Regions from separate parts of the Homo sapiens genome. Here all the other regions are linked to region 1. The links are contacts of gene promoters, found by promoter capture Hi-C in blood cells and fetal thymus (Javierre and others, 2016). All regions are on one chromosome and are shown on one strand. The core of a region is centred on a gene start or on the middle of the fragment in contact, and the rest is flanking DNA. Distances in the headings are between cores, read along the strand shown. Region 1 holds the start of ZNF433 (zinc finger protein 433). Region 2 overlaps ZNF44 (zinc finger protein 44). Region 3 has its middle 10 kb from the start of ZNF439. Region 4 has its middle 8.9 kb from the start of ZNF69. Region 5 overlaps ZNF439 (zinc finger protein 439). Region 6 has its middle 3.2 kb from the start of ZNF440. Region 7 has its middle 45 kb from the start of ZNF44.

The links. Contacts are between HindIII fragments. The CHiCAGO score rates a contact against its expected background, and 5 or more counts as called.
Region 2: a fragment that was not itself captured here is called in contact with the fragment with the promoter of ZNF433 in region 1 in 4 of 17 cell types (total CD8 T cells, erythroblasts, M1 macrophages and 1 more); the score reaches 5.9 in total CD8 T cells.
Region 3: a fragment that was not itself captured here is called in contact with the fragment with the promoter of ZNF433 in region 1 in 7 of 17 cell types (total CD4 T cells, erythroblasts, M2 macrophages and 4 more); the score reaches 6.6 in total CD4 T cells.
Region 4: a contact is called between a fragment that was not itself captured here and the fragment with the promoter of ZNF433 in region 1, in 1 of 17 cell types (erythroblasts). The highest score is 6.1, in erythroblasts.
Region 5: a contact is called between a fragment that was not itself captured here and the fragment with the promoter of ZNF433 in region 1, in 3 of 17 cell types (total CD4 T cells, erythroblasts and megakaryocytes). The highest score is 7.8, in total CD4 T cells.
Region 6: a fragment that was not itself captured here is called in contact with the fragment with the promoter of ZNF433 in region 1 in 3 of 17 cell types (total CD4 T cells, megakaryocytes and naive CD8 T cells); the score reaches 6.8 in total CD4 T cells.
Region 7: a contact is called between a fragment that was not itself captured here and the fragment with the promoter of ZNF433 in region 1, in 3 of 17 cell types (fetal thymus, total CD8 T cells and erythroblasts). The highest score is 7.9, in fetal thymus.

Annotation. Positions count from the first base shown.
Region 1 is chr19:12,034,204-12,037,079 of GRCh38, reverse strand. It overlaps ZNF433 (zinc finger protein 433), which reads left to right and starts at 1,401. Exons shown (of 4, transcript NM_001308348.2): 1 at 1,401-1,543. The coding sequence starts at 1,541. It overlaps ZNF433-AS1 (ZNF433 and ZNF878 antisense RNA 1), which reads right to left. Exons shown (of 3, transcript NR_134929.1): 2 at 1,308-1,526. RefSeq lists silencers at 1,287-1,446, 1,687-1,736, 1,747-1,866. The HindIII fragment of the contact is 7,472 bases long and covers 1-2,355 here.
Region 2 is chr19:12,271,735-12,274,586 of GRCh38, reverse strand. It overlaps ZNF44 (zinc finger protein 44), which reads left to right. Exons shown (of 4, transcript NM_016264.4): 4 at 524-2,779. The coding sequence ends at 2,180. Among named protein-coding and RNA genes, the nearest start is that of ZNF44, 22 kb to the left of the region's middle. The HindIII fragment of the contact is 230 bases long and covers 1,471-1,700 here.
Region 3 is chr19:11,837,049-11,839,904 of GRCh38, reverse strand. No RefSeq gene overlaps it. Among named protein-coding and RNA genes, the nearest start is that of ZNF439, 10 kb to the left of the region's middle. The HindIII fragment of the contact is 1,799 bases long and covers 560-2,358 here.
Region 4 is chr19:11,877,275-11,880,409 of GRCh38, reverse strand. No RefSeq gene overlaps it. Among named protein-coding and RNA genes, the nearest start is that of ZNF69, 8.9 kb to the left of the region's middle. The HindIII fragment of the contact is 570 bases long and covers 1,600-2,169 here.
Region 5 is chr19:11,857,099-11,860,000 of GRCh38, reverse strand. The region is part of intron 1 of ZNF439 (zinc finger protein 439); the gene reads right to left. Among named protein-coding and RNA genes, the nearest start is that of ZNF439, 9.8 kb to the right of the region's middle. The HindIII fragment of the contact is 3,965 bases long and covers 1-2,902 here.
Region 6 is chr19:11,809,549-11,812,602 of GRCh38, reverse strand. No RefSeq gene overlaps it. Among named protein-coding and RNA genes, the nearest start is that of ZNF440, 3.2 kb to the left of the region's middle. RefSeq lists a silencer at 230-339. The HindIII fragment of the contact is 8,771 bases long and covers 1-3,054 here.
Region 7 is chr19:12,248,037-12,251,156 of GRCh38, reverse strand. It overlaps a transcript of ZNF44 not described here. Among named protein-coding and RNA genes, the nearest start is that of ZNF44, 45 kb to the left of the region's middle. The HindIII fragment of the contact is 2,218 bases long and covers 375-2,592 here.

The DNA of each region.
Region 1 (2,876 bases), core at 152-2,651:
CATCACACAGACCAATAAACTGGCTCACCTGCTCCAGTGGCCCCTAGCCAAGAACTGACTCAGTGCAAGAAGACAGCTGAGACTTCCTGTGATATCCTTTTCGCGACCAATCAGCATTCCCCATTTTCCAGCCTTCTGCTCACCAAATTATCTTTAAAACCCTAGCCTCGGCCGGGTGCGGGGGCTCAGGCCTGTAATCCCAGCACTTTGGGAGGCCGAGGCGGGTGGATCATGAGGTCAGGAGTTTGAGACCAGCCTGACCAACATGGTAAACCCCGTCTCTACTAAAAATACAAAAATTAGCCGGGCATGGTGGCGCATGCCTGTAATCCCAGCTACTCAGGAGGTTGAGGCAGGAGAATCGCTTGAACCCGGGAGGCGGAGGTTGCACTGAGCCGAGATTGCGCCACTGCACTCCAGCATGGGCGACAGAGAGATTCCGTCTCAAAAAAAAACCAAAAAAACAAAACCTAGCCTCCCATTTTTTAGGGAGACAGAATTGAATAAAAATAAAACTCTTCTCTTTCATTTAGCCGGCTCTATGTATATTAAACTCCACTGCAATTCCCTGTCTTTTTTTTTTTTTTTTTTTTCGGAGACAGGGTCTCACTCTGACATCCAGGCTGGTAAAATCACAGCTCACTGTGGCCTCGACCTCTCTGGGCTCAGGCGATCCTCTCATTTCAGCCTTCCGAGTAGCTGGGACTGCAAACATGTACCACCACGCCCGACTAATTTTTGTATTTTTTGTAGAGGCGGGGTTTTGCTATGTTACCCAGGCTGGGCTTAAGTTCCTAGGCTCAAGCAATCTGCCTGCCTTGGCTTCCCAAAGTGGTGGGGTTACAGGCATGAGCTACCCCCACCCCCCCAGCCCACCGCCGGACGAGCTAAAGTTTCTATTCAACAGTACTCTATGGCAGGGGTCCCCAACCCCCGGTCCATGGCCTGTAAGGAACCAGTCCGCACAGCAGGAGGTGAGCGGCTGGCGGGCGAGCCAGCGGGCATTATCGCCAGAGATATGCTTCCTGTCAGATCAGCAGAGGCATTAGTCTGTCATAGGAGCCCGAACCCTATTGTGAGCTGCACATGCGAGGGATCTAGGTTGGGTTCGCCTTATGAGGATAAAATGCCTGATCTGAGGTGGAAGTTTCATTCCGAAACTATCTGCCCCCGTAGGAGAACTGTCTTCCACGAAACCGGTTCTGGTGCTAAAAAGGTTACAGACCTCTGGCTTAAAGAATCTATCGCTGGATCCGGTCAAACCCGTTTTCAGAGCCCCGTTACCAAGGGCTTCTATTGTCACTCACGGCTGAGGGGGCGGGGCCCGGCGCTTCGTCCAATCAGGGGCGCTGGGCGGGGCCTGCCGAGTGTCCATCGGGGAGGGCGAAGGCCCTGCTCTCCTCGGTTCCCGGCTCCAGGCGGCGAGCTGAGGTTGGGAGCCTGGCTTTCCCCTCCGAGAGGGTTCAGGTGCCTCTGCCATAGCTTCTGTCGCCTGTGCTGTGACCCGCACTGGTCGTGGGAGTCACCTGAAAGGCAAGAAATGGTGAGCGTGCGGGCCAGGGGTCCCGAGGCGGGGGAGGAGCTGGTTGGAACCGGCCGGAACCGGCTGTGGTGGGACCCGGGCCTCCCCGCGGCGACTCCGGGGTCTGGGACCCGATTTCCCGTGGGACAGCTCGGCCCTTGGTCCCCTTGGCCCCACAGTGGGGCTGGGCCGGCCGCCGGGACCCGGGCGTCTCGTCCTGTCCCTGCGCGGTGACTGTCACCCAGTTCCCAGAGCCCTCTCTGGGCAGCTCCGCGCCCGCTGCCCCGCGTCTCCCCACATTGTGCGGGGACTACGCGAGGGTCATGGGGGGATCCCGCCTCGGGTGTGGGGGTTTGTGTAGGAGGAGGGTGGGCTGTGGGGTCCCCAGTAGCGCCTTTCTCCTCTTAAAAATTAAACTGAGACACGTTAACAATTATAGTTTTGCTTCTCAGAATAGGTTTTAAAAAATATATTAATAATTAGAGTTCCTTTGAGATTCCTGAATGATAAACACCCAGTCCTGGCTTGTAATTTGTTAACGGAAAATGCCAAGCTGTGTAAAATAACTTAAAGAAGTTTATTCAGAGCCGAATAGGAGAGGCCTCAGCTGAGGAAAACACAACCCCAGGAGGCCTGAAGTAAGTGGTCCCGAGGCGGCTCAAGACTGTTTTTATTCATTTCAGGGAGACAGGAATTGCAGGGAGAATCATGCATCAATGCCTGGAAAGGTGTAAGTTCCTTTGGCAGAAAGGGCGGGACCTGTGGAAGGGGGGTTAGAAGGTGCAGGTGGTTGAGGGATTCTGAAGGTGGCCGTTGGTGGAGAGTGTGAAGCTTTGTCTAAAACTTCGAGGCGGTAGGAAGGATTGCTTAAGTGAAGAGGGTCTGGTATCTGTCATATGATTTCATCCCACCCAAAACAAAAGACCTGTTTCTTTAGATTTTGTGAATTCTAAGATTTGACTTACCTCTTGCCTTGCATGGCCTTAGGTCTTGTTTGTAATTTGGTTTCTTATTGTCACAGAGAGTCTGTGTTTCCAGTTGGCTGATGTCTGTTTTAACATGAAGGTGGGTCAGTGGCTATGTGGAAACTCCTAAAGGAAGCGGGTATAATGAGGCCTGTCCAGGTATAGTGAAGCCTGTCTGATGGTTAATCTGTAGTCAAGTGTGGGAGGGTTCCAGCTGGCTCTTTCCAGTGTCAGGTGACTCAATTCCAGAGTCACATTACTTTAAACTTCAAGATAATTTAGAGTTCCAACAGCTTCAATTTTTGAATTACTTATTTTCACAGACCATACAGTGGAAAATTTTTGGTTGTATAATCAGAGGTTACTCGACCAATTGTACCTGGTTAAGC
Region 2 (2,852 bases), core at 336-2,835, 240 kb before region 1:
AAAAAAAAAAAAAGGCCAGGCGCAGTGGCTTATGCCTGTAATCCCAGCACTTTGGGAGGCCGAGGTGGGTGGATCCACGAGGTCAGGAGATCGAGACCAACCTGGCCAACATGGTGAAACCCCATCTCTACTAAAAATACACAAAAATTAGCTGGGTGTGGTGGTGCATGCCTGTAGTCCCAGCTACTTGGGAGGCTGAGGCAGGAGAATCACTTGAACCTGGGAGGCGGAGGTTGCAGCAAGCCGAGACAGCACCAGCTGCACTCCAGCCTGATGACAGAGGGAGACTCCATCTCAAAAAAAAAAAAAAAAAAAAAAAAGAATTAAGAATCCCCATGTGCATATCATTGTCTTGAAAATAGCTGGGATTGAGTTATCTTGCACAACATTCAGTCCATTCACATTGAAGCAGGACATGAAGCTTATAGCTTGCCTGATAATGTTAAAAATGTAAATCTAATACCTGTTGATAAATATAAATTCAATAATAAACCTTTAGTAATGTACTTTTCATTTTTTACAGGTGTGATGTGGTAGAGAGATTTGGTAAAAGTAAAGATGGTAGTCAGTGTGGAGAAACCTTAAGCCAGATTCGAAATAGTATTGTAAACAAGAACACTCCCGCCAGAGTAGATGCATGTGGAAGCAGTGTGAATGGAGAAGTCATAATGGGTCATTCATCCCTGAATTGCTACATCAGAGTTGATACTGGACACAAACACCGGGAGTGTCATGAATATGCAGAGAAGTCATATACACATAAGCAGTGTGGGAAAGGCTTAAGTTATCGCCACTCCTTTCAAACATGTGAAAGGCCTCACACTGGAAAGAAACCCTATGATTGTAAGGAATGTGGAAAAACCTTCAGTTCTCCTGGAAACCTTCGAAGACATATGGTAGTAAAAGGTGGAGATGGACCTTATAAATGTGAATTGTGTGGGAAAGCCTTTTTTTGGCCCAGTTTATTACGTATGCATGAAAGAACTCACACTGGAGAGAAACCATATGAATGTAAGCAGTGTTCTAAAGCCTTCCCTGTTTACAGTTCCTATCTAAGACATGAAAAAATACACACTGGGGAGAAACCGTATGAATGTAAGCAGTGTTCTAAAGCCTTCCCTGATTACAGTTCATATCTAAGACATGAAAGAACTCACACTGGAGAGAAACCCTACAAATGTAAACAATGTGGGAAAGCCTTCAGTGTTTCCGGTTCCCTTCGAGTACATGAAAGAATTCACACTGGAGAGAAACCCTATACATGTAAACAGTGTGGGAAAGCGTTTTGTCATCTTGGAAGCTTTCAAAGACACATGATAATGCACAGTGGAGATGGACCTCATAAATGTAAGATATGTGGGAAAGGCTTTGATTTTCCTGGTTCAGCACGAATTCATGAAGGAACTCACACTCTAGAGAAACCCTATGAATGTAAGCAATGTGGGAAATTGTTATCTCATCGCTCAAGCTTTCGAAGACACATGATGGCACACACTGGAGATGGCCCTCATAAATGCACAGTATGTGGGAAAGCCTTTGATTCTCCTAGTGTATTTCAAAGACATGAAAGGACTCACACTGGAGAGAAACCCTATGAATGCAAGCAATGTGGGAAAGCCTTCCGTACTTCCAGTTCCCTTCGAAAACATGAAACAACACACACTGGAGAGCAACCCTATAAATGTAAATGTGGAAAAGCTTTTAGTGATTTATTTTCCTTTCAAAGTCATGAAACAACACACAGTGAAGAGGAGCCTTATGAATGTAAGGAGTGTGGGAAAGCATTTAGTTCTTTTAAATACTTTTGTCGCCATGAAAGGACTCACAGTGAAGAAAAATCTTATGAGTGTCAAATTTGTGGCAAAGCCTTCAGTCGTTTCAGTTACTTAAAAACTCATGAAAGGACTCACACGGCAGAGAAGCCATATGAATGTAAGCAATGCAGGAAAGCATTCTTTTGGCCCTCTTTCCTTCTAAGACATGAAAGGACTCACACTGGAGAAAGACCCTATGAATGTAAACACTGTGGTAAAGCCTTCAGTCGTTCCAGTTTCTGTCGAGAACATGAAAGAACTCACACTGGAGAGAAGCCCTATGAATGTAAGGAATGTGGGAAAGCCTTCAGTTCTCTCAGTTCCTTTAATAGACATAAAAGGACACACTGGAAGGATATTCTATAAGTGTATGGAATGTGGGAAAGCATTCATTGGTTTTATCACATTCAGATACTTGAAAGAAATAAATCCTGTGAATGTAAACGTGGTAAAGCCTTAAGAAGTTTCCAGGCTGGGCGCAGCGGCTCACACCTGTAATCCCAGCACTTTGAGAGGCCGAGGAGGGCAGATCACGAGGCCAGGAGATCGAGACCAGCCTGGCTAACATGGGAAACCCTGTCTCTACTAAAAATACGGAAAAAAAAAAAAATAGCCAGGCATAGTTGCTCACACCTGTAGTCCTAGCTACTCAGGAGGCTGAGGCAGGAGAATCCCTTGAACCCGGGAGGTGGAGGTTGCAGTGAGCCGAGATTGCACTACTGCACTCCAGCTTGGGTGCTAGAGCGAGACTCCATCTCAAAAAAAAAAAAAAAAGTTTCCATTTCTTTCAAATAGAGTTGCTGCCTGCTATATGCAAGAAGATTGGTTCCAGTACACCCTGAGTATACCTAAATCCACAGATGCCAGCTCTTTTATAAAATGGAATATTCGCATGTACCTACCCACATTCTCCTGTATACTCTATAAATGTCTAGATTAATTAAAATATCTCATGCATTGTAAAAGCTGTGTACATAGTTGTATTGTTTAGGGAATCATAAGAAAAAAAATCTATATGTGTTCAGTACAGACCCAACC
Region 3 (2,856 bases), core at 210-2,709, 200 kb after region 1:
TCAATAAACATATTGAGAAATGTGTTTACACTACTATGTAATTGCTCCTTCCCTGTGCATGTCAAAAAGATTCTCTTCCTTGTTCTTAGGCTGTAAATGATTAGAAAAGACAGAGAAGTGCCAGAGGTAGGATCCTTTTGAGACCACTACCCCTCCTTACAAAAAGTTAAAGCAGGCCGGCTGCAGTGGCTCACACCTGTAATCCCAGCACTTTGGGAGGCCGAGGCAGGCGGATCATGAGGTCAGGAGTTTGAGACCAGCCTGACCAACATGGTGAACTCCGTCTTTACTAAAAATACTAAAATTAGCCGGGCATGGTGGCACGTGCCTGTAATCCCAGCTACTCAGGAGTCTGAGGCAGGAGAATTGCTTGAACCCGGGAGGTGGAGGTTGCAGTGAGCTGAGATTGCGCCATTGCACTCCAGCCTGGGCGACCGAACAAGACTCCATCCAAAAAAAAAAGTTAAAGCAATCATCCTTGAAATTTGGTAGCTGCAACCTATCAAATCACTGAAATGTGTGCACCGGCCTTGTATGGAAAATGTCACCCTGTTAAGCTTCATTTTGCCCTATAGAAGAGAAGACTCAAATTCCCCGTGTTGGAGCACTGACCCCACTCTTCAGGATATCTGTTTCCCCAGTGGCTATCCTCAAACTATGTGCTCAGATAAACTCAGCATTTAATCATATTCTCTGAATCTTATTATCTTATTAAGGTGCACAATATTATTTCATTATTATTTCCATGATAACAAAGCACATACTACACATTAATCATATGTGAACACAAACATATGACAACAGTTGCCAGCCAGGTCTTACCCCACAGATAACAGGAAGAAGAAGAGTTATCCACCATTACAAGTTCCCCAACCTGCAAAGGAGGACTGGTATTTTGCTGAATCTTTGTAATTCACCAATTTATCTACTATACTTTATTGTGGAAGATTATTCATTTTCTCAAGCTGTAATAAAAGATTTTCTCTATTTCTTTTCCCAATCAGCATTCTCAACGCTATGCCCTGAAACTCTGTTACAAATCATCCAAAAATGGCCATGCACTGTGGCTCAAACTTGTAATACCAGCACTTTGGGTGTAGTGGTGTGTGCCTGTGGTCTCAGCTACTACGGAGGCTGAGGTGGGAGGATAGCTTGTGCCTGGAAGATGGAGATTGCAGTGAGCTGAGATTGTGCTACCTCATCCCAGTCTGGGCAACAAAGCCAGACCCTATCTTAAAAAAAAAAAAAGGAAAGAAAGAAAGAAAAAGAAATAAAGAAATCATCCACAAAAAAGGACAGACTTAAGAAATGTACTACACCACATCTGAAGAAGAAAAAAATTAAGAATTTTGAGACTGGGTGCGGTGGCTCACGCCTGTAATCCCAGCACTTTGGGAGGCCAAGGCTTGTGGATAACAAGGCCAGGAGTTCGAGACCAGCTTGGCCAATATCGTGAAACCCCATCTCTACTAAAAATACAAAAATTAGCCAGGTGTGGTGGCACGTGCCTGTGATCCCAGCTACTCAGGAGGCTGAGGCAGGAGAATCACTTGAACCCAGGAGGCAGAGGTTGCAATGCCCCGAGATCACACCAATGCATTCCAGCCTGGGTGAGAGAGCGAGACTTTGTCTCAAAAAAAAAAAATTTTTTTTTTGAAACAAATGCTATATAAGACTAATGATTTATTTCTGACATCTATTTTTATCTTGGCTCTGTGCAAAATTTTCTTATTTTTCCAGCTGTAGTGAAAATGCAATTTACAATTAATTTTAAAAATCTGAAGCTGCAATAAGTGAACAAATATATATATATATATATATATATTTTTTTTTTTTTTAGAAGGGCTCTCACTCTGTGGCCCAGGCCGGAGTGCAGTGCTGCAATCACAGTTCACTGCAGCATCAATCTCCCAGGCTCAGGTTATCCTTCTGCCTCAGCCTCCTGGATAGCTGGGAGTACAGGTACGTGCCACCATATCCAGCTAATTTTTTGTATTTTTTGTAGAGAAGAGGTTTTGTCATGTTGCCATGGCAGGTCTTGAGCTCCTGGGCTCAAGTGATCCTCCTTCCTTGGCCTCTGTGAGCCACTGTGTCCAGCAACAAATAATTCTTTACAAGGGAACAAACCCTGTCTGGGTATGGCGGCTCATGCTTGTAATCCTAGCACTTTCGGAGACTGAGCTGGGAGGATTGCTTGAGAAAAAGAATTAGATAACAGCCTGGGCAACATAGCATAATCCTGTCCCTATTACTTAAAAGTCTAAATAAAAGTCTGAAAAGCAGCATTTCCCACCTATTCTCTATGAGGGAGCCTTCATCTACATAACAAGGTCTCCTTAGCTACACAGGAGGTAAGCTTCTTCCTTTCCTCTTCCCTAATCTGTCTTGCCATTAAACCTGACTTACCCACCAAACCCGGGATTTTTTGGCCAGCCAAGTCTGCATTCTTTCTTGGCCTCAGAATGGTAATATAAGCTTTTTTGTCTTATTGTTGGGTGGGTCTTCATTCTGAAGGCTCCCATATATACATGTTAAATAAATTTGTATGACTCTTCTCCTATTAATCCAAGTTCCATGATCTGAAAAAATTTTTCCTGTCTTTTCACCTTATTTTATAAAAAAAGTGCAAGACCATGTATATCTAAAAATGAGCATTTTTGTATCTCAGAAATCAAGATATTTTCCATATATAACCAGAAAATGGTATTCATATTTAAAAATGTCCTAATATCAACACATTGAGGGATATTAAAACATCATTAATAGCGTAAAGTGGAATTCTGGAAGCTTAGCTTTGAATACATTTCATTTTGTCTGTTAAACATTGAAGAGAGTATGTGGTGTTAGGATATGTAT
Region 4 (3,135 bases), core at 635-3,134, 160 kb after region 1:
GGCTAAATCTTTAAAGAAAAACTTAAAGAAATTCACTGTATCTTACAAATCTGACCCCAGTGGCCCCATGCATGTCAAACCCCAAACCCTGCCCAGAAGACAGCCCCAGGCTCCAGAGGTACAACACCAGAAAGGACAGAACCCCCACACATACGTGTGCATGTGGGTCTTCTGCTTTCCAGGGCTCTTCAGCTTCTCGGAATCCGCACTCCTTCTGGAGCTGCTCTGAGCAATTGGAGGCCACCTGTAGGGGAGGGCGGGCTGCCCGGAAGCCCCCAGGAAAGGCTCCTTTCCCTTCCTTTGCAGGCTCCACACTGGCCTCAGCGTTGAGTCACCGGCCTCGGGCTCTGCTGCCCCCTGCAGGTTATTCAGCTACTTCTCACCCCATTGATCAGTTCCATGACACAAACACCCTCAATCCCATTGTGTGAATAAGACACCAGCAGAGTCCCTGCTCTCCTCCTATGTTTATGTATAAAGTGGGGAAGGAAAATTCTAAGATAACTTAAGTGCATTTAAAAGATTTCCAGATCGTGGTGGAGGTGGCAGCTGAGGGACGCACGTTCAGTGACACTGCAGTACCTCCGGGCCTGGCTGGTTGGAGAGAGGGTGGAGAGCTGGAGATGAATGTGGATATATGGAGGGAGCAGCCCTGGGAACCGGGCTCTGCAGCAGCGCGGCTCTAGGGCCTGGAGCCCGGGGGAGCAGAGATGATGGGGGCTCCTGGGACAGGACGCTTGGGGAGAAGAGAGTCAGGCGGTTTCCATGGGACAGGGGTGCTGTGGCAGCTGGTGTGGGCCTGTGGCTATCATAACTAAGCCCGATTGGGACGTGAAAACTTGGATTCCGTGGGAATTTATGAAGAGGAAGGCTCTGATGACAAAGAAGTCATCGATGAGGAGAGGGATTAGGGTCACTGGCAAGCTCGCCCCCTTATGGAAAGAAAAGTGAACGTTCAGCTACTGCGGCAAAATGGGGTCAAAGGATGAGACTCTCACTGTCAGGGAATAAATTGCTGCAGAACTCTTAGAGATTGCAAAGACCTTCAAACAACAGCCTGGGAGGCCGGGTGCCATGGCTCACGCCTGTAATCCCAACATTTTGGGAGGCCAAAGTGGGAGGATCGCTTGAAGCCCGAGATTGGAGACCACCCTGAGCCGTGAAGTGAGACCCTCCCATCTCCATAAAAAATTTTTAATTACCAAGGAGAAGTGTGTGTACCTACAGTCTCAGCTACTCAGGAGGCTGAGACAGGAGAGTCACTTGAACCCCAAAGTTTGAGGCTGCTGTGAGCTATAATTGGGTACTGCGCTTCAGCAAGACACTGTCTCAAAACAAACAAACAAAAAATTAAAATCCCACCAAACTCCCTGGGGAAACCCTGTACCCCTTTGATGGTCAAAGTGTAAAATACAGCAGGTGGTGACATTTCCTTATGGACTGGATCATTCTAGCCACGTAAGAGGCTTGGCCTACTGAAGATTTACCAAGCGGGATCACCTCCTTGCAGTCAGTGGAAAAAGCCCCCGGTGAAACCATCCCTTTAAACTTTATCAAATTCATCAGGGAGGATGGGAGGAGGAAAACTTAAACCAAGCTTGCGGCACCTTCAGCATTAATCATCAAGTCAGCTTGTTCTCTGACCTTCCTCATATTTGTTTCATACCTAGTGTCCTAGAATCCCATAGACCCTAAATGATAGTTCCCGTTAACTGCTCTATACATAACAATTTGAACATTAGATATTTTCCCTTATAAATATTCCTTTTTGAGTTCTGGGTGCATTGGTTCATAACTGTAATCTCAGCACTTTGGGAGGCTGAGGTGGGAGGATCACTTGAGCCTTGGAGTTCAAGAACAGCCTGGGCAATAGAGTGAGACTCCATCTGTACAAAAAATTTAAAAACAGCCGGGCATAGTGGCATGTGCCTTTACTCCCAGCTACTTGTGAGGCTGAGGCAGGAGGATCCCTTGAGCCCGAGTTTCTACAGTGAGCTATGATCCCACCACTGCACTCCAGCCTGGGAAACAGAGCCATACTATTTCTCTTAAGAAAAAAAATCCAGACATTTGTTGGTCTTTGGATTATTGGAGAGCATTTATCTGACACTTAGCCCAATGTTTTAGAAAGGGGCACTTTGGGACTGGGACACAGCTCTGAAGGAAGCTTTGGACAGGTTAATGTGTTAGTATGGCAGGCACAAGCCTCAGGCACACCTTTAGAGGGTAGAGCTGTGACTTGGGATGATATAGTTGCTGCTGAGGGTACAATTTGGGACTTACGGCAACCACAGTGTGGTAAATCAGTCCCTTTAGGATTGTGGTTGTAATTATGACATGGAGATGAAACCAGACACTCTTGAGTCAGTGCAGGCAGTATATAATGCTTTCCAGCAGGTGGAATCCTTAAGAAAGAGCCTTTGCATGACTGTGAGAATGGGAGTACCATGCCCAGCTAATTTTTTTGTATTTTTAGTAGAGATGTGGTTTCACCATGTTGTCCAGGCTGGTCTTGAACTCCTGAGCTCAGGTGATCCACCCGCCTCAGCCCCACAAAGTGCTGGGATTACAGGTGTGAGCCACCGTGCCTGGCCTCCCACTAAGTTTCTTTCATTTGCCCTGGCACAGTTTCTCATGCCTTAATCCCAGCATTTTGGGTGGCTGAGGTGAGTAAATCGCTTGAGCCCAAAAGTTTGGGCTATGACCACACGGGGCAACATAGGCCTAGTCTCTATTTTTATTAAAAACAGAATATACACACACATATGAATGAGAGGCCGAGTGTGGTGGTTTATGCATGTAATCCTAGTGCTTTGGGAGGCCAAGGCAGGTGGATCACCTGAGGTCAAGAGTTCGAGAACCACCTGGCCAACATGTTGAAACCCCATCTCTAACTAACAGTACAAAAATTATCTGGATGTGGTGGCACGCACCTGTAAACCCAGCTACTTGGGAGGCTGAGGCAGGAGAATCACTTGAACCTGGGAGTCAGAACTGGCAGTGAGCCGAGATTGCATAATTGCACTCCAGCCTGGGTAACAGAGCAAAAACTCCATCTCAAAAAAAAAAGCAAGAAAAAAAAAAAAGAAAAACTTTCTTTTTAGTCCCTAGTTGGTAGGCTATCACTAATATCAC
Region 5 (2,902 bases), core at 220-2,719, 180 kb after region 1:
GGTCTAAAAGTTGATCCTTCTGTTTTCTCCACTTGGAGTTTAGTCCATACTGTCCTTCTGCCGTTATCTCCTTCTTATTCTGCTAGACAGCTGGAATCATATTCTGAGTCTAAAAATCTGAAAGAATCTTTTGTCCCACCCACAGTACCAACTGAAAATAATAAACAGGAGAAGGAGGATAAAAATTGGCCTATACCGCCCCCTCCAATAGCAGAAACATCTGTACTGCCTCCTTCGGTAGCAGAAATAGAGACCCCAAAACAAACAACTTTATGCTCTGCTGCCATAGCTGGAGAGCCCTTAGGACCTTGCGTTTTTCCTATTTCCATAAGGCCCGATTCAAATAATCCACAGCAGTTTATTCATGAACACACCCCCACTAGAGTTTAAGTTGTTGAAGGAATTAAAAGCTAGTGTAGTTAATAATGGAGTACAGAGCCCATTTACTTTAGGATTACCAGAATCTCTTTTTGGTGCTATGCGCCTTATACCCTTTGATGTAAAGCATTTGGCTCAGATTTGTTTGTCTGCTAGCGCATACCTAACACGGAATTTAAATTGGGAAGAAATGTGTGCAGACCAGGCTAGACAGAATCATGCTACTGGACATAGAGACATTACAGAGGATATGCTGTTGGGTAATGGCCCTTATTCAGACCTGGAACATCAAATGGCACTCCCAGACGCTGCTTATAAGCAGTGTGCACTGGCTGCTAAATGTGCCTGGGCCACAATTCCAGAGGAAGGGGTTCCAGTACAATCCTTTTTACATATCACGCAAGGGTTGCAGGAGCCCTGTGCACATTTTCTTGAAAGATTACAAGAGGCAGTGAAGAAACAGATTCCTCATACCATGGCTGCAGAGATGCAAACCGTAACTTTAGCTTTTGAGAATGCAAACGTAGATTGTAAATGTGCACTAGCACCTGTGAAGTATACAGAAGAGTTGGGAAATTTTCTCAGAGCTTCTCAGGATGTAGGAACTGAGCTTTATCATTCTACAATGTTAGGTCAAGCAATGGCTAATTTAGTAGTTGACAAATCTAAAAAGAGCCAAGGGTCAAACCCTAAAATGGGATATCAGAGCAGAAAAGGCTTAGAAAAGTCCCTACAGGGAAACCCTGATCCTATATCAATAAGTGGGCAAACAGATAGAAAAGGGCTAGGAGTCAGGATTTCTGATGGGGGTCATTGATACTTCTCCTTCACCTACTGCCTTACCATTAGAATGGCTCAGTGACAAACCTGTGTGGGTGGATCAATGGCCCCTATCACAGGAGAAACTAACTCAACTTCAGCAGTAGAAAAAGAGCAACTGGATGCAGGCCATAAAGAGGAGTCGGTTAGCCACTGGAATTCACCAGTGTTTGTAATTCCAAAGAAGTCAGGAAGATGGCGACTGCTGCATGATTTGAGAGCTATTAATGCACAAATTAAACTGATGGGTGCATTACAACAAGGCTTGCCATCTGCAGCCGTCATTCCTAGAGACTGGCCTCTTGTAGCAATAGACCCCCTTTTTTTTTTTTTTTTCCGAGATGGAGTCTCGCTCTGTCGCCCAGGCTGGAGTGCAGTGGTGCGATCTCGGCTCACTGCAAGCTCCGCCTTCCGGGTTCACGCCATTCTCCTGTTTCAGCCTCCCAAGTAGCTGGGACTACAGGTGCCTGCCACCATGCCTGGCTAATTTTTTTTTTTTTTGTATTTTTAGTAAAGACGGGGTTTCACCATGTTAGGCAGGATGGTCTTGATCTCCTGACCTCATGATCCACCCACCTCGGCCTCCCAAAGTGCTGGGATTACAGGCGTGAGCCATTGCGCCCGGCATAGACCTTTCTTTACTATACCCTTACACGAGAAGGATAAGCCTGGATCTGCCTTCTCTGTGCCTTCTATTCATCCAAGAGAACCTGTTTCTCTTTATCAAAGGAAAGTTTTACCCCAAGACATGCTTTACAGTCCTACGCTGTCAGCATTTTGTAGGACAAACATTGAAGGAGACTCTGAATATGTTTCCTACTGCTCACATCATTCATTTCATGGATGACATTCTTTTGGCCACTCCTACAGATCAAATCTTACATCAGTTATTCAGAGAAAGGAAGCAGGCTTTGACTAAATGGAATCTCAAAATTGGTCCAGAGAAAGTACAAGCAACTTCCCCATACCATTACTTAGGCACTATTGTTACTGAAAGAAGTGTTCGGCCTCAGAAAGTAGTTCTCCATAAAGACAGGTTACAGATTTTAAATGATTTTCAACAGTTGTTAGGGGATATTCATTGGCTGTGCGCAATGCTAGGTATTGCAACTTATCGACTCAAACATCTTTATCAAACCCTGCAAGGAGATTCTTCATTAGATTTCCCCGCAGCAATTGACCAAAGAGGCAGAAGCTGAGTTGCAACTTGTAGAACAGATGCTTCAGCAGAGACATGCCTCATGGCTGTAGCCGCAAAAGCCTTTGCTTATTCTTCATACCCCTCATTCTCCAACAGGACTCCTGGGCCAGTGCTTAGACAAGTCTGTATCAGTAATAGAATGGCTCTTTCTACCTAATCAAACAGTTAAAACCTTGCAAGCCTATCTTCCTTTAATTACACAACTTGTGACTATAGGTAGGCATAAATTAAAAGTGCTTATGGGGTATGATCCAGACGCAATTATTGTTTCCTTGGATTCCCAACAACAGGCCACAGCATGGGAAATATCGACTGTGTAGCAAATTGCTCTTGCAGATTTTGTGGAAATAATAGACAACCACTCTCCATCGGACAAAGTTTTACAATTTTATAATGTCTATTATTTTATCTTCCCTGTGATTACTCATCACGAGCCTATTCCAGGTGGTCAGGCCTATTTTACCGATGGCTCTTCCAAAGGGCGTGCAGCTATGTTGGGACCTA
Region 6 (3,054 bases), core at 247-2,746, 220 kb after region 1:
AACCGGGACACATGGTCAGATGATTTCTGAGGCAGTTTTGTACCTTATGTAAAGGTAGAAAGTGTTGGAACTAGAAGACATCGAGCTGGAGTCAGTTGCAGAATTGATGCTTTGCTTGGCATGTGGGGGACACTTCTCAAATATTTGCATTTGGTCACAGAAGTATTCCGTGTTGTGTGAGAGCAGAGGAAAAAGAGTAGACTTTTTTTCCACTCTTAAGTCTCAGCACAACTCAGAAATCCAGTCCCCCAGACAGGATGTGTGGATGTTAAAGTCGCCCTCACCACAAGAGGGAGCTTCATTGACTTCCCCTATCTGGAAAATGGCTCAAAGGTGTTTTCTAAAAGACTTTTTAATGTAAGGCATATCAGTTATTAGAAATAAAGGTAGGACAGGTGTGGTGGCTCACACCAGTAATACCAGCATTTTGGAAGGCCAAGGTAGGAGGATCGCTTGAGGCCAGGAGTTTGAGACCAGCCTGGGCAACATAGTGGGACCCTGTCTCTACCCGAAAAAAGAAAAAAAGTTAAGGTAACATCACTGAATTTGGTTTCATTTACATGATTTTTCTTTTCTTTTCTTCTTTCTTTCTTTCTTTCTTTCTTTCTTTCTTTCTTTCTTTCTTTCTTTCTTTCTTTCTTTCTTTCTTTCTCTCTCTCCCTCTCTCTCTCTCTCTTTCTTTCTTTCTTTCTTTCTTTCTTTCTTTTTTTTTTTTTACAAGGTCTCCCTCTGTCACCCAGGCTGGAGTACAGTGGTGCAAACAGAGCTCACTGCAGCCTTGATCTTCCGGACTCAAGCAATTCTCCCACCTCAGCCTCCCAAGTAGAGCCTGGGACCACAGGTGTGCGCCACCAAGCCCAGCGAATTTTTGTATTTTTTGTACAGATGGGGTTTCACTGTGTTGCCCAGACTGCTCTCCAACTCCTGGCCTCAAGTGACCCTCCCACTTTAGCTTCCTAAAGTGCTGGGATTACAGGTTCTGAGGCACCATGCCTGGCCAATTTAATTTTTCATAGATTGATTTTTAAAAAGTAATGAACCTGGCTGGGCATAGTGGTCATGCCTGTAATCCCAGCACTTTGGGAGGCTGAGGTGAGTGGATCACCTGAGGTTGGGAGTTCGAGACCAGCCTAGCCAACATGGTGAAACCCCATCTCTACTAAAAATACAAAAATTAGCTGAGTGTGGTGGTGCATGCCTGTAATCCCAGCTACTAAGGAGGCTGAAGCAGGAGAATCGCTTGAACCTGGAAGGTGGAGGTTGCAATGAGCCGAGATCACACCATTGCACTCCAGCCTGGGCAGCGACAAAGAGAGACTCTGTCTCAAAAAAAGAAAAAGAAAAAGAAAAAGAATAAGCAATAAACCCTGTGAACTTTGATTAGATTTCCCAGATCCTAAAAAGTGCAGTGTAACAAAAAACTGAATGGAAAGAAGTAGGACTAACTGAGGTGAGAGGAAGAACCCTCTGTGGAGGTGACATTTGAGGTGACCTGATATAATGTATTAGTATAAAGAAAATGTTAAAATGAACATTATGGGAGGCCATTGTTTTGGACTGAGCTTCTGCACTAGGCACTTAGAAACCAGATCAGACCAAAATGGAGTCACTCATGCTAAATGCCACATAACGAAACTGAAACTTAAAGGAAGCGAATAGATCCCTATACAGATGAATTTTTCCATCGAAAACCAGTTCAGTATCCTGTTGGCCAGACTGGTCTCAATTTGAGAAACATCAAGACACCTCCATAGTCAAGGCTAATAATGTCCAGGCTGTGTCCTGTTCATCACCTAAACCTGCACCTCTAGTGTTCCTTACCTTCACTGGCCATCCCAACACAGTGCCCGCCTCCTGTAGAAAATCACATCTGGAGTGAAGTTGGTGGCGTTGTTTGTACTCTAACCAAACTCTCAGAGTGCATTTGGCCTTCAAGGGAGAAGGATGAGGTCGTGTTTGGTTTCAGACACACCTAACTCTGTATTACCATCTCTTTCTTGATCTAAGCGACACTCTATAAAAACTGATAGGCAATGGGCTGGGTGCAGTAGCTCACGCCTGTAATCCCAGCACTTTGGGAGGCCGAGGCAGGTGGATCACAAGGTCAGGAGTTCAAGACTAGCCTGGCCAACATGGTGAAACGCCGTCTCTACTAAAAATACAAAAATTAGCCGGGTGTGGTGGCGGGCACCTGTAATCCCAGCTACTTGGGAGGCTGAGGCAGGACAATAGCTTGAACCCAGGAGGCAGAGGTTGCAGTGAGCCAAGATCGTGCCACTGCACTCCAGCCTGGGTGACAAAGTGAGACTCCATCTCAAAAAAAAAAAAAATGACAGGCAATGACAGTACCTTTCACTTATGTTGATACCTAATCTGGGGATGGATGTGTCATCTGCACATAGAGTCAGGGGTTGGTCACTCATTGCTGCTCTGTCCTGTGGTACCAGGTTTTGACTCTAGGGGGTTTCAAACAGGCTTCTCTGAAGAAGAGTTTGGCTGGCACTTCAAAAAAGTGATTGGATTGGTCCATGCCACTGCATAATATATAAAACTAACTTTTCCATGTTGCCTATTACTCTACAGTGTGGCATAAAAGGGTTGCTGAACTCCTGTTCGAGATCAGCCTGGGCAACATGGTGAAACCTTGTCTCTAAAAAAAAAAATACAAAAATTAGCTGGGCATGGTCCCAGCTACTTGGGAGGCTAAGGTGGGAGGATCGCTTGAGCCCAGGAGGTGGAGATTGCAGTGAGCCGAGATCACGCCACTGCACTCCACATAGCCTGGGTGATAGAATGAGACCCTGTGTCAAAAAGAAAAAAGAGGGGTGCATCAAGAGCATATTATCTGAGCAAGAAAGGCTTGGTTGGAATAGTGATACTGACTTTCATCCTTCCTAGGCGTGCATTCAGACAGTTACATAAATATATTGACCACACTTGACTCAGTAAGGAATTTCTTTAAAAGTATTATACAGCTTCCTAAGGAGTAAGTGATTTTATATATTTTTAACTGGAGCATTTTGTGGAACAGTGTTCATACACTCTAAGAAATAT
Region 7 (3,120 bases), core at 234-2,733, 210 kb before region 1:
TTTCACCATTTTAGCCAGGCTGGTCTGGAACCCCCGACCTCAGGTGATCCACCCTCCTCGGTCTCCCAAAGTGCTGGGATTACAGGTGTGAGCCACCAAGACAGGGTTTCACCATGTTGCCCAGGCTGGTCTCGAACTCTTGAGCTCAGATAATCTGCCCGCCTCGGCCTCCCAAAGTGCTAGGATTACACGTGTGAGCCATTGTGCCCAGCCAACTTCTCCAAAAGAAATATTTTGATTGAATTGGCTGGATCTGACTACCTCGAATATCCTAGAGTACCTCAGGACAATATGGTCAGGTAAATATTGTTACAAGTTTGATTTCCACGTGCCTCTTGTTCTCATGCTTAGTGATGGGAATAGTAGAAAAAGCTTCTAGTTCTTCAGTGTGCTTTTATTCATCCACGTATTATCCATGTTTGACCCTGTGTCTCATGGAATGTTGAGTGATGTGATGTATAAGAAGAAGATGAGTTTTTCTCACAAAGAATTGATGGTCTTAAAATGGAATTTTTTTGTACAGCATTTCTCTCACTTTTCCAGAGTGCTCTGGATCCTGCCATTGGAAAGCAATATGATTGTGATCACAGTGAAAGTGTAGAAATAATTTTCGTGTGTTCATAAACTACTGAGGGAGTGTGGCCAAAGAGTTAGAGTTCTGACAACAAATTCATAGAATAAATCTCTGGAGATCACAGAATCATCGTGAACATCTTATGACTCGAGTATAGATGTCCAGTGCTGTCAGTCTCACCCATTCTCCTTTACACACATTTGGAATGTTTTAGGACTCAGTGACCTTTGAAGATGTGGCTGTGAACTTCACCCAGGAGGAATGGACTTTGCTGGATCCTTCACAGAAAAAACTCTACAGAGACGTGATGTGGGAAACCTTCAGGAACCTGGCCACTATAGGTAAAAATGAAATCATTCCATCATGTTGTTGAATGAATTAGAGAATACCTTTTTCTTGGATATCAATGCTATTCCAAGATGTGGAATGTGAAAAGGCAAAATTCTTTTGTAAATCAGGCATGGTCACATATGGACCTAGAATCTAATAATTTTTCTGTAATTTCTAATAATTTATGATAATTTTTTCTGGGTCTGCATTTCAGGAACAAAACAAAAAGAATGGAACATTGAAGAGCAGTACAAAAACCAGGGGAGAAATCTCAGGTGAGTCACACTCAGAAAAGAAAGCAGTATTCTAGGAGAAAAATCTTAGTATGTCATTAAATTTGATAATTAAAGAAACAAAACAAGCTGAGCCTCAAATGTATCTGTTCTTAGAAAATATTAACCCAGCTAGCGCAGTGGCTCATGCCTGTAATCCCAGCACTTTGGGAAGCTGAGGCAGCCGGATCACCTGAGGTCGGGAGTTCAAGACCAGCCTGACCAACATGGAGAAACCCCATCTCTACTAAAAATACAAAATTAGCCGGGCATGGTGGCACATGCCTGTAATCCCAGCTACTTCGGAGGCTGAGGCAGGAGAATCGCTTTAACCCGGGAGGCGGAGGCTGCAGTAAGCCGAGATTGTGCCATTGCACTGTAGCCTGGGCAACAAGAGTGAAGCTCCATCTCGGGAAAAATAAATAAATAAAAATAACCCAAAGTGCTTTCTTTTCTTTTTTTTTTTTTTTTTTCTGAGACGGAGTCTTGCTCTGTCGCCCAAGCTGGAGTGCAGTGGCGTGATCTCGGCTCACTGCAAGCTCTGCCTCTTGGGTTCACACCATTCTCCTGCCTCAGCCTCCCGAGTAGCTGGGACTACAGGCGCCCACCACCACGCCCGGCTAATTTTTTGTATTTTTAGTAGAGACGGGGTTTCACTGTGTTTAGCCAGGATGGTCTCGATCTCCTGACCTTGTGATCCGCCCGCCTCGGCCTCCCAAAGTGCTGGGATTACAGGTGTGAGCCACCACGCCTGGCCCCAAAGTGCTTTCTTAAATATGGCATAGATGTTCATGGTCCAGGCGCGGTGGCTCCCGCCTATAATCCCAGCACTTTGGGAAGCCGAGGTGGGTGGATTGTGAGGTCAGGAGTTCAAGACCAGCCTCGGCAACATAGTGAAAAAGTAGCCGGGCGCAATGGCAGGTGCCTGTAATCCCTGCTACTCAGGAGGCTGAGGCAGGAGAATCAGTTGAACCCGGGTGGCAGAGGTTGCAGTGAGCCAAGATCGCACCACTGCACTCCAGCCTGGGCGACAGAGTGTAGCCTGGGTGACAGAGTGAGACTCCGTCTCAAAAAAAAAAAAAAAGAGAAACCCATATATGAAAATCACTGTTTTCATAACAGTTATGTTTGAGCCCTCTTGCAGGGCCATAGCATTCAGTACATTCACCTCACAAGCAATTTAGACAGGACAAAAAAATCTGTACTTTCCCTGAAAGTGGAAAAAATAGTTATTCTAGTATCAGTTAATAAAGAGAAAATCTTTAAAAAATGAACTATTAATGTGCTACTCATTTTTTACAGAAATCATATGGTAGAGAGACTCTGTGAAAGTAAAGAAGGTAGTCATGGCGGAGAAGGTTTCAGCCAGATTGCAAATCTCAGTCTGAACAAGAAAACTCCTTCTGGAGGAAAGCTTTGGGAAAGCAGTGTATGTGGAAAAGTCTTGAGCCATCATTCATCCCTTAACAGGCACATTAGATCTTACACCAGACACAAACTGTATAAGTGTCAGGAATATGGAGAGAAGCCATATAAATGTAAGAAATGTGGGAAACCCTTCAGTTATCTGCAGTCTTTTAAAAAACATAAAAGAACACACAGTGCAGGGATAGTCTACAAATGTAAGGCCTGTGGGAAAGCCTTCAGTTGTCAACGTTCTTTCCAAATACATGGAAGGACTCACACTGGAGATAAACCCTTTAAGTGTAAAGAATGTGGAAAAGCATTCCGATACCACCAATCTGCTCAAAAACATGAAAAGGCTCATACTGGAGAGAAACCCTACAAATGTAAGGAATGTGGGAAACCCTTCATTTACCGCCATTCTGCTCGAGCACATGAAAGGAATCACACTGTACAGAAACGCTATGAATGTAAACAATGTGGAAAAACCTACATATCTTCTGTAGGTTTTCAAGCACATGAAAGAACTCACACTGGAGA